Linked DNA regions of Homo sapiens: region 1 is linked to region 2. Evidence: promoter capture Hi-C in 16 types of primary human blood cells and fetal thymus (Javierre and others, 2016). All regions are on one chromosome and are shown on one strand. The core of a region is centred on a gene start or on the middle of the fragment in contact, and the rest is flanking DNA. Distances in the headings are between cores, read along the strand shown. Region 1 has its middle 110 kb from the start of SIRPA. Region 2 holds the start of SIRPA (signal regulatory protein alpha).

Region 1 (4,810 bases), core at 171-2,670, 110 kb after region 2:
CAACAAACATTCATCCGGCACTTATTTACACTAGTGACCAAGGACATGGTCCCTGTCCTCCAGAGCCTACAGTCTAATAAGGGAAAGAGTTATTATGCAACTAGTTTCAAGTTAACAGTTTAATTATAACTGTGATAAATGCTCTGCAAGAGAAGTATTTGAACCCACAGGGAGACATTAGGGTAGAAAAGACTTCCCTGATGAAGAATGTTTCACCCAAGACCTCACTGTCGACTATGGTAGCCAGTAGCCACACGTGACTATTGAGTGTCTGAAATGTGGCTAGTGTCACCAAGGAACTGAGGGTAGATGAATAATTTTACCAAACTTTATAAAGTAACTATTCTGTGTCAGGCCCTGCCCAGTCCAAACTAGTCTGGTTGAAAATGCCAACATTACATCTAGTTCAGCGTCCACTTCCTTCTCTCACCCCAGCCCACTGCTGCCTCCAAGTCCCTGCTGAGGGATCTGGAAGGGATGGAGGTGAAGCATTCTTTTGTCCCTCCTCCTTTCCCTGAATTGGGTCTGTCTATCATCTGGTGTGTTAGGGCCTGGGAAGGGAGATGGAAAAAGAGGGACTTCTTTTACCCAGCAATGCTCTGTTCACTATGGCTGGACTCTGGAAGCCAGCTGCCTCCTAGGGCACAGGTGTGGATTCCTAGGAGGATCCTGAATGTGTGCATGTGTGCATGCATGTGCACGTGTGTGTGCCCATGTGTGTATGCTGTGGGGGTACACAGTCTGCTGCACAGTCTCTTTTATGCATGATCTGATCCAGGTTCACAGCTCCCCGCTGGAGTCCATGCTGCAGTCTCTTACTCCTAGGCCCTCTTGCCAGTGGTCATCTCTCTTGAGTGGGATGCTCTAAGGTCGGCTCCCCCCTTTCAATGAGGGTCTCTCCATGGACCTCACCCCCTTGCCACTCTGCATGGAGGAAGCTTGAGCTGCTGCCCTGCCACCCCGTCACTCTACCCTGCTGTCTCTTTTCAGTTCCTTTTTCTCCTGCTCAGGGCAACATCAAGGTGGATCAGCAAATCCACTGTTGCTTCAGGAGACACCTGGAAAAAGAAAAGCCAGCCTCCTCCTCCTGCAGGCACGTAATATCTAGGAGTCATTTTGGGGTGCCTTGCTTGGCTGAGTAGTGGTGGGGGGTTGTGAGGTCAGGGGAGTTTCCATAACAGCCTCACCCAGGCTAGAAAACTCCTCTCTAGCCTCTCCCTCCACTTTAGCTGAGCGTACAGACCCCAAAGAGATGGGATGGCTGGGGAGCAGGCTGGGCTTGGCTGCTTTGTAATCAGTCTTGAGAACATACCTGGCCCCAAAGGTTCATTTGTTATTAGCGAGTATCTATTCTGTGCCCAGCACTGTGTGGCTGCTGGTTACAGCCATGAACAAAAAGCAGTAGTCTTCAGGGCAAATCATTTGTTTTTCATGAGGGAAATGGATAAAAACGAGTAATATACATCAGGGCTAACCATTGGAAAGCCCAGTAACGTAGGGTAAGGAAATGGAGAGAGACCAAAGGGAGAGGTTGTTTTCATAGGGAGGTCAGGGAAACTGGTGGCTGTGTTTCAAACTCATGTTTCCCCAACGTGGAGCCTAGTAGACAGTTCTGGGCCATGGGAAATCCGTGCCACCATTGTCCAAGCCCAGTTAAGCTGTGAGGCAAGGGTTGGGTTTCAAAGTCTAGGGTCTTTCTTGGTTGCACGTGGTTGTGTATGTCAAGGCTCACTTCTCAACCCTCTGGGCCCATATCTGATCCATTCTGCATTCCCAGAAGCCGTGTCTGGGCCTGGGACAGGGCAGGCTCTTGATGCTGCTTGTTCAGCATGGAGGAGCCTCCAGGACAAGGGACATCAAGGCTCAGCCTATCAGAGGCCAGCTCTGTGGCTTGAAGCTTGAGGCAGAGCTCAGCCGCTTTCTGGTTTTGCTCATGGGGAATCAGGGACAGTCGGAACCCATTAAAAGGCTCCAGATGCCTCCCTGGTTAGACACCTCAGGCCTGAAGGTTTGCAGCTTGGAAGGAGGCCGTGGCCACAGTGACCACTTCCCTCACTGTGGCTCAGGCCTCTGTTCCAGGCATGGCAGAGAATGGGGTGGGGTAGGCAGCTGGGAAGTATAAGGCCTGCTCCAGGCTGTCAGAGGCTGGTCAGTGGCTCCTGGGCTCTTTCAGGGCCTTATCCAGTGGTTGCCACCAGGAACAGACCAGGAGCACTGTGAGTCTCTCACCATGGCTACCACACCTGGGCGGGCCCTGGGCTCCCTCCTGCCCACCCTTCTGCTGGGACTCACAGGTGAGTCCTGATTCCTGCCCAGAGAGACCCTCAGGGCAGGCAAGGAGACCCCCAGGAATGACCAAATCCAGCCACTGTGTCTTTCTGAAGGAAGACTGAGGCTCAGAGGAGGTGACTGAGCTGTTTTCCTGCCAGTCAGGTGCTGTTTTGCATCTTTTCTTCAATGTAGACCTTGCGGACAAAGGGAGCTGGTGGGAGCTTGGGGGTCAGAAGAGGAAGTGACCTAAGGGTGAGGGGCTCGGGGGAGGTCAGGGGGTAAAAGAGGAGCCCACCTCCCAGTTTTCCCGATGTCAGCTCTAGTCTGGGTGGCTACCTGTTCTGGGTCAGAGAGGGTGTAAGGGTGGAAAAGACAGAGCGAGAGAAAGAAAGAGAGAGAGAGAAAAAAAAGAGAGAGAGAGAAGTCGCCAGAGTGATGGAGCCTCCGGCATTGGAGGCATGGAAGAGTCCTGGACCCAAAGTCAGACAGGCCTTCTTACCCTCCCTCTTTAGTCACTGATAGGCTGTGTGACCTTGAGCAAGTCACGAGACCTTTCTGAATCTCTGTTTCCTTTTCTGGAAAGTGAGGACAATAATACCAGCCTCCCACAGCTGAGATGTGGAAGAAAAGAAGCACACATGGCTGAAAATGTTTTCTGAACCACACGGTGCTGTGTGCAGGGTGGGTGATGAGGGCAGAGCACAGTCCAGAAGGTACCAGAGCTGTGTGCTAAGAGGACAAGTTCCTATGGCCTCCTGCGCTGCCCTCTGCCTGTCATCCTGCTTGTCATTGGTTGTTTATTTGCCTTTCACCCCCATCTGACCAGATGCTTCTCAAGGGTGGGGGTCCTGTCTGACTCATCTCTGTGGTCTCAGCACCCAGCTCTTGACCTGGTGCAGAGCAGGGGCTTAGGGAATGCTGTGAAGACTTGGGGAGTTTCTTGCTCCAGAGCTCTGCAAGGCTGTCCTTAGAAGGAGGGGTGAGTCTCATCCTGCAGTTTTCCTGGGAAAATTCTGGGAGACAGATCCCAGGTTATATCCCAGAAGCAGGAAATATTTTGTCATAGTCCTAGCTGGGTGTGAGGGTGAATGGAGCTGCTTCTCATGGAGACAGCTCCCTGTCACTGCAGGTAAGCAAGCAGACAACGGGGGTCTAGTGAAGTGTTGATGGGAGGCACCCGAGTAGGGGGGCCAACCATCCCTGTTGGGGTGATTCTTGACTTTACACTCAAGTCCTTATAAACTTACATCCACAATGGAAATCCTGATTCATCACCATTCCCTTCCTATCCCAACTTGGTCCTTCTCCAGATCTTCCCAGCTCAAAAAGTAGAGCTACCACCCACACAGCTGCTCTAGAGAAAACCTGGGAATTGTTGATCCAGAATTCATTCTGTCCCTCACCCCCCATCCCGCCCATCACTGAGTCCTGTGGGCTGTATCTTCCAAATGTGTCTCGAGCCTCCTTTTCTCACCACCCTAGTCCAGGCTACCATCACCTTGGCCTGGAGGTCTGTACCAGCTTCCCCACTGGTCTCCCTGCTTCCATTCCTGCCACGCTCCTTCCCATTCTCCACACAACAACCCCAGTTATCCTCTAAAAAATGTACATCAGACCACTTTGCCCCTCTGTTAAAGTCTCTGCTGGTTTCCCATCACTCTCAGAATAGAATCAAGATCATCACCATGGTCCCCAGGCTCTTCTCACTCTGGACCTCTTTGCCATGACACTAGGGTCCCCTACAGACTTCTCAGTTTCTCAAGCCCACCAAGCCCTTCCTGCCTGAGGTCCTTCTCTCCTGCTGTCCCCGCTGTCTGGAATGTCCTTCCTCTGTCCCTTCCCATTGCTGGCTCCTATTCATTCCTGAGTTTCAGCTCAATGATGTCACCTCCTCAAGTAATTCTTCCCCAGCTGCCCTTCTAGAATAAGTCCTCCCTGTATTCTCCATCTATGCAGTCTTTGGGTTTCCTTGATGGCACTGGGATCAGTCATAATCACATTTGCATTTGCTTGTTTTCTTATGATCAAATGCCGATATGCTGCCTGAAGACAGAATCAGACACAGCATATAGTAGGCCCCCAGGGCCTGACACAGCTCTGGTGCCACTGGTGCCTGTGGGGTGTGTCCCACTCTCAGTGTACAATCACAATTGCTCTTTCCTTAGCTGGACAGCCCTTCATCTCTCTGACTGGTCCATCTCACAGGACAAGCCCTGGAGACTCAGTGCCTTTCAACTGTACTGCTGTCCCCTTCAACTCCCAGGACTTCTCCCGGGACTTCAATGTTACGTGGTTGAAGGACAGTGATGAACATCCAGCCTCAGCTCAGCGCCTGGTGCCTGACAATGGAGGCAATGACTTCATCACCAGCAAGGCATGGGTGACACTGACCCGACAGGATGTCTCATCTGAGATCACCTGCGAAGTCACCCACAGGGCCCTGGCAGAGCCCCTGAAAACAACCATGAATCTCTCCCAAGTGCTCTGAGGTGAATGGGCAGTCAGGTGGGGTGGACATTAACCCTGGAAGCATCCAGCT
Region 2 (4,552 bases), core at 1,253-3,752:
TTGTTTTAGGAAACAGGCCTCACATTGGGTCCAAAAACATAGGTTGGTGACTTCACTGGGATCTTTTTAGAATTTCCCTTTGGCAGCATTTGTGCTAAAAGCAATCTTTAGAAACTTCTTCTCTTGCCTCCCCCACCCAGGATAATTCACATGATTGGCCCCACCCCCCCAAAACAGTGATCATGTGAAGACACAGGAATCATGTGACACCTCCCAGGCTGACAGTTCTGCCTGAGACACTAGTAGTCATTCAATCCAAAGCCGCCTTCCTAAACCTGACATTTTAGTTTCTCACTCGAACAAATCCATTTTCTTAGAAAATTGGACAACTGCCTCCTTGTACCTTCCTACCCTCATATCCTGTCTCTCTACTTCTTTGTTGTAAATTCCATGTCTGGAGCAATAGGGGGAGGGGCCTGAGGCCCCATCCTTCAGCCAAACCAGGTGACTTCCCTGCCCAGGCCCATGGTGTGACCAGGACCCCGAAGAACAGATACTGAAGGATAATGGGAGACTTGAGCTATGATGGTCGCACCTCATCCCTTCCCCACCACCCTCGACCAAGAAATTCATTCTTACCTCCTAAGATTTATTTATTTCAAAGCTAATCTTGGCCCCTCTGCTGCTCCCACTTTTTCAGGCTATTGATGCTGAATGGATTGGAACGGAAGTTTTATGGCCCAATCTTTACCATCTTATAGACTGTTTTTATAGGCAAAAGGGGGAGATGTGCTCACAAGAAAGGTGTTGGTGTTCCCAGCCGGTGCCCCAGGAAAGGCAGGCTGCCCATCGGAGCACTTGCTAATCAGCGTCACTGCTCGTTTGCCAGGGACTGAACCACAGCCTCCTGGTCGGAGAAGGGTCTGGAATAGACATTTAGAAATTAACTCGGGCCCAATTCCCTGCTTCAGGAAAATTAAGCACTTGTGAGTGACACTTGTGCATTTCCAGGCCAGGAAGGATGGCAGGGCAGGAACTCGGACTTTTGCAGGGTACAAATGGCCAGCTCAGGCAGGAAGGAGCAGATAGGAGATGCCACTCACTGGAGAGACGTGAACTGTATCAGTGCTCCCTTCAGCCCAGCAAGGACGCAACTATAACTGAAAAGAACTGGGGGTGGAGGGTGGGGTGGGGTGGGGGGATGCCTATGTGAATTCCTGGGTTTCAGGGGAAACTGCAGGGCAGAGAGAAGCAGCTGTCTACCCCCCATACTTCTCCTTCCACCCACTCTTTGCTAGTTCTCCCTTTCTCCCTGCTATCAGATGGTTACCATCTCTAGTCAAACGCAAAAGGGGGTGTTGGACACTGAGCTCATCTTTACCTCCCTCCTCAAGGGTGGGAGGTACAGAGAGACCCCACTGCCTACAACACAGTTTCAAGACGACAAAAAACAAGATCCCCATTTTTCTCTCCCTCCCAACTCCCTTAATGCCATTTCTCTGCTCCCCCCGCCCCCCACCCGGTGCCCTCCCAGGAGACCCATGGTTTTGCAAAACCCATTTAAGAAGCAAGACTCCTGAATGGTGACCTCACCCTTTGGTGAACATGCACAGTAGCCTTCAGAGCCCGCCTGCCGGCGACAGCCAGGTGTTTGATGTAGGCCAACAGAAAGACATGGTCAGAGCCACAGGTAACATCCCCGCGGAGCACCTGAACTGCAGGGAGCTGCCTGGAAGCTCGGGGAAGGCAGGAGGAAGGGGGAGCTGGGAGCGCCTCAAGGAGCAAGACCACCAGGGAGAGGCTTTGGCAACCACAGGGACAATCCACCGTGTTTTTACATAAGGATCTGTTGCTCGCAGCAGCTCGCTCTGGGGTTACCGCGGCCTCCCGGCTCCCTCTCTCCCAGGCACACACTAACACCGGTTTACTCTGCGCACCAGAGGGAGGGCTCACTCTTCCCTAATTGCAACAGCTTGTCTCTGTTCCATTCCAGGCAGCATCGGGAGGACCTCTGCCCTCACCTCCTCCCCTCACACCCTGAAGTCAAACATGTGGAAAGTCGTATGTCCATGGGGACAGATTCTGGGGAAGCCGGACGGCCCTGCTCTGAAAGCCACTGTCAGTCAGCCTTCCCCATTGGACCGGGCAGGGGCTGAGTGAAGCAACTCGGCTCTTTTGTCTCAGTGCCCAGCACAGTGCACAGAGTCAGAGTCCACAGAGACAAACTCTCATAGAAGAGACTTGGGTTCTACCCTTGGCTGTGTGACCTTGGGCATGTCGCTGGCCCTCTCTGGGCCTCAGTTTCTGCATCTATAACCCTGGTTACAGGCGTCTCTCCCCCTATTACTGCTCGGCATTAGCCGAAGGGGTCCCAGTGCCAGTCTGAGAGGCCTGAGCCCGCAGTTTGGGGAGTGCAGCGGTGGGGAGCGGGGGGGTGCTTACCTGACCAGGCGCAGGACGCGGCGAGCAGCAGGCAGAGCAGCGGCCCGAGGCGGCCGGGGGCCGGGCCGGCGGGCTCCATGGGCCGCGGCTGCGGAGCGAGGAGGGAGAGCGGCCGTGAGTGCGCGCTCGGGCGGGAGCAGGCTGGAGCGGGGAAATGACTAAGGCTCCCCCCCTTCCCCCCTCCCGGCTGGGCCTCCCCCCGACTCCGGAACGGGCGCCTGGAGCGGCCGCCGCCGCCGCCGCGGTTTTTGGAGACCCCCCCTCCCCGCCCCCCAGGAGAAATGGAGAGACGGAGACTGGGAGAGACCCCAAGCGCGCGAGAAATAAAGCCAGGGGCGGCCAGAGAGAGGCGGCAGGAGAGAGAAACAGACCCAAGGGAGCCAGGCAGAGAGCCAGAGACACGGAGAGGCGAGAGGGGGAGAAAGAGGGGGAGAGCGAGGAGCGAGGAGCGAGGCGGCGCGCAGACCGACAGACCGCGCGGGAGAGAGGACCGCGCGAGCAGGGGCGAGGGGCAGCACGGCCGAGCCCGGCCGCGCGGAGCCGCCCCCGCCGCTGCCCACCTGCCCCGCCCGGGCTCCACACGGCGCGGGCGGCTGGGCTCGCTCCCGGCCCGCAGTCCCGGCCGCTGCCCCCGCCCTCCCGGCAGCCCGACCCCCTCCCTCCTTCCCTTTCCCCTCCTCCCGTCTTCCCGCCGCCCGGGGAGGCTTCGGGGCTCCGGCCCCGCCGGCACCTTCTCTGCGAGCGAGCGCCCGCCTGCGCGCCCCGGGGGAGGGAGCGAGGGCTGCGAGCTGCGCGCCCGGCCGGGGAGGGCAGCGTCCTCCCCCGCGCCGGCGCCCGGGCCCCGGCTGCTGTCCCGGGAAGGCGGCCCCGCGAGCCGCCGCGGCCCGCTGGGGCTCGGGACTAGACGAGCCTCCGGCTCCGACAGCGTGCCCGTTCAGAAGCCCGCGCGGCTGGTCCCCAGCCCCGACCGGTCCCGCTCTGCCCCTCCCCGTCCCTGCCGGGCCCGGACCTGCGCCGCCCGCGAGGGCTGGAAGGCACTGGAAGCGCCGCCGGGGCTGCCCAGAGGCCGGGTCCCCGCTCCACTTTGCGCAAACTTGTTTTTCTAAGGTCAGCGCTGCGAGCTGGCTACATCGTCCTCTTAAGGTGGACCGGGGAAGTTGCGGCCGACCTCCCCTCGCCTCCGGACTCCGGCCGCGCGGCTGCTCCCCGCTTCCCACTGGCGAGAGGCTGGAGGCGGCGAAGGAGTCGGGGCGCGGGGGCGCGGGGGGCGGGGGGGCGTCTGCCTTTTAACCCTCCCCAGGAGGTCGTGCCTCTGAGCCCCAAAGCTGAAGGCCCCTCTTGGGGGTGGGTGCGGGCCGGAGGGGCCCGATCCTTTCAGAGCCGGGCCGAGGTGAAGGAAAAGAAGGAAGTAAGTGAACGCAGGGGGAAGGGGAGAGGAAGAAGAGATGATGGTACAAAAATAGCGTGTGTGTAGGAAGGACTTCGGTGCCGCCTGGAAAAGAGGCGCGGGGAGGAGAGGGAGCGAGAAGGGGGCTGTGGCGCGCAACCAGAGGGGAAGGGTCGGGGCCTTCCCAGGGAGGTGGAGGCCCCCTGGCCAGGTGTCTCGGTGGTGGAGGGCGGACTGGGCGGGTGGGAGGCCCAGGCCGGGGCGTGTGTGGGAGAGCGGGGCCCTGAAGGCCTGGGTTCCGGGAGAAGGACAAGCCCTGAGGAAGATGAGGGGAAGGGGAGCCGGGGCCAGAGGCCTGGAGTTGGAGAGGACAGAACCCCGGTTTTCCCGGAGGGAACGCCGTTCCTGTAGTAGCCAGGTCAGTGATGGGGAGTGCCAGTGTCGTGGTCACCTGGCAGAAGGCTCCGCACTGTGGGAGGAACACAAGTTCAAGACCCCGCTGCTAATGGGAGAGAATTTTGGTTCACACAGTGGCGGTTAAGAGGACAGGAATGACACAAGGTGAGAGAAGGCCCAACCCTGTAAATGGACAGAAAGTTGAGGCCCGGAGAGGGAATAGGTTTGCTTAAGGCCACACAGCAAAGCTTGGGGTAGAAACAAGATTTGAATTCCTGATTCCCAGGTTAAAGACCTGTGCAAAGTAACACCACTGCCTCCCCTCCTGCCCCGAGCCTCCTGGTGAAGGCATGGCCCTGCTGTTGTGCAGGGGGGCAGGGAAGGTGC

What was found. The method cuts DNA at HindIII sites, captures the fragments that hold promoters and counts their contacts. A CHiCAGO score of 5 or more calls a contact.
Region 1: a contact is called between a fragment that was not itself captured here and the fragment with the promoter of SIRPA in region 2, in 2 of 17 cell types (monocytes and neutrophils). The highest score is 8.4, in monocytes.

Annotation. Positions count from the first base shown.
Region 1 is chr20:1,779,612-1,784,421 of GRCh38, reverse strand. It overlaps the pseudogene LOC100289473. Among named protein-coding and RNA genes, the nearest start is that of SIRPA, 110 kb to the left of the region's middle. The HindIII fragment of the contact is 959 bases long and covers 941-1,899 here.
Region 2 is chr20:1,893,357-1,897,908 of GRCh38, reverse strand. SIRPA (signal regulatory protein alpha) reads right to left here and starts at 2,502. Exons shown (of 8, transcript NM_001040023.2): 1 at 2,383-2,502. The coding sequence starts at 2,461. It overlaps LOC102724545 (a long non-coding RNA gene), which reads left to right and starts at 3,659. Exons shown (of 4, transcript NR_186374.1): 1 at 3,659-3,790. RefSeq lists an enhancer at 1,342-1,857 and silencers at 3,149-3,268, 3,279-3,538. The HindIII fragment of the contact is 10,599 bases long and covers 1-4,415 here.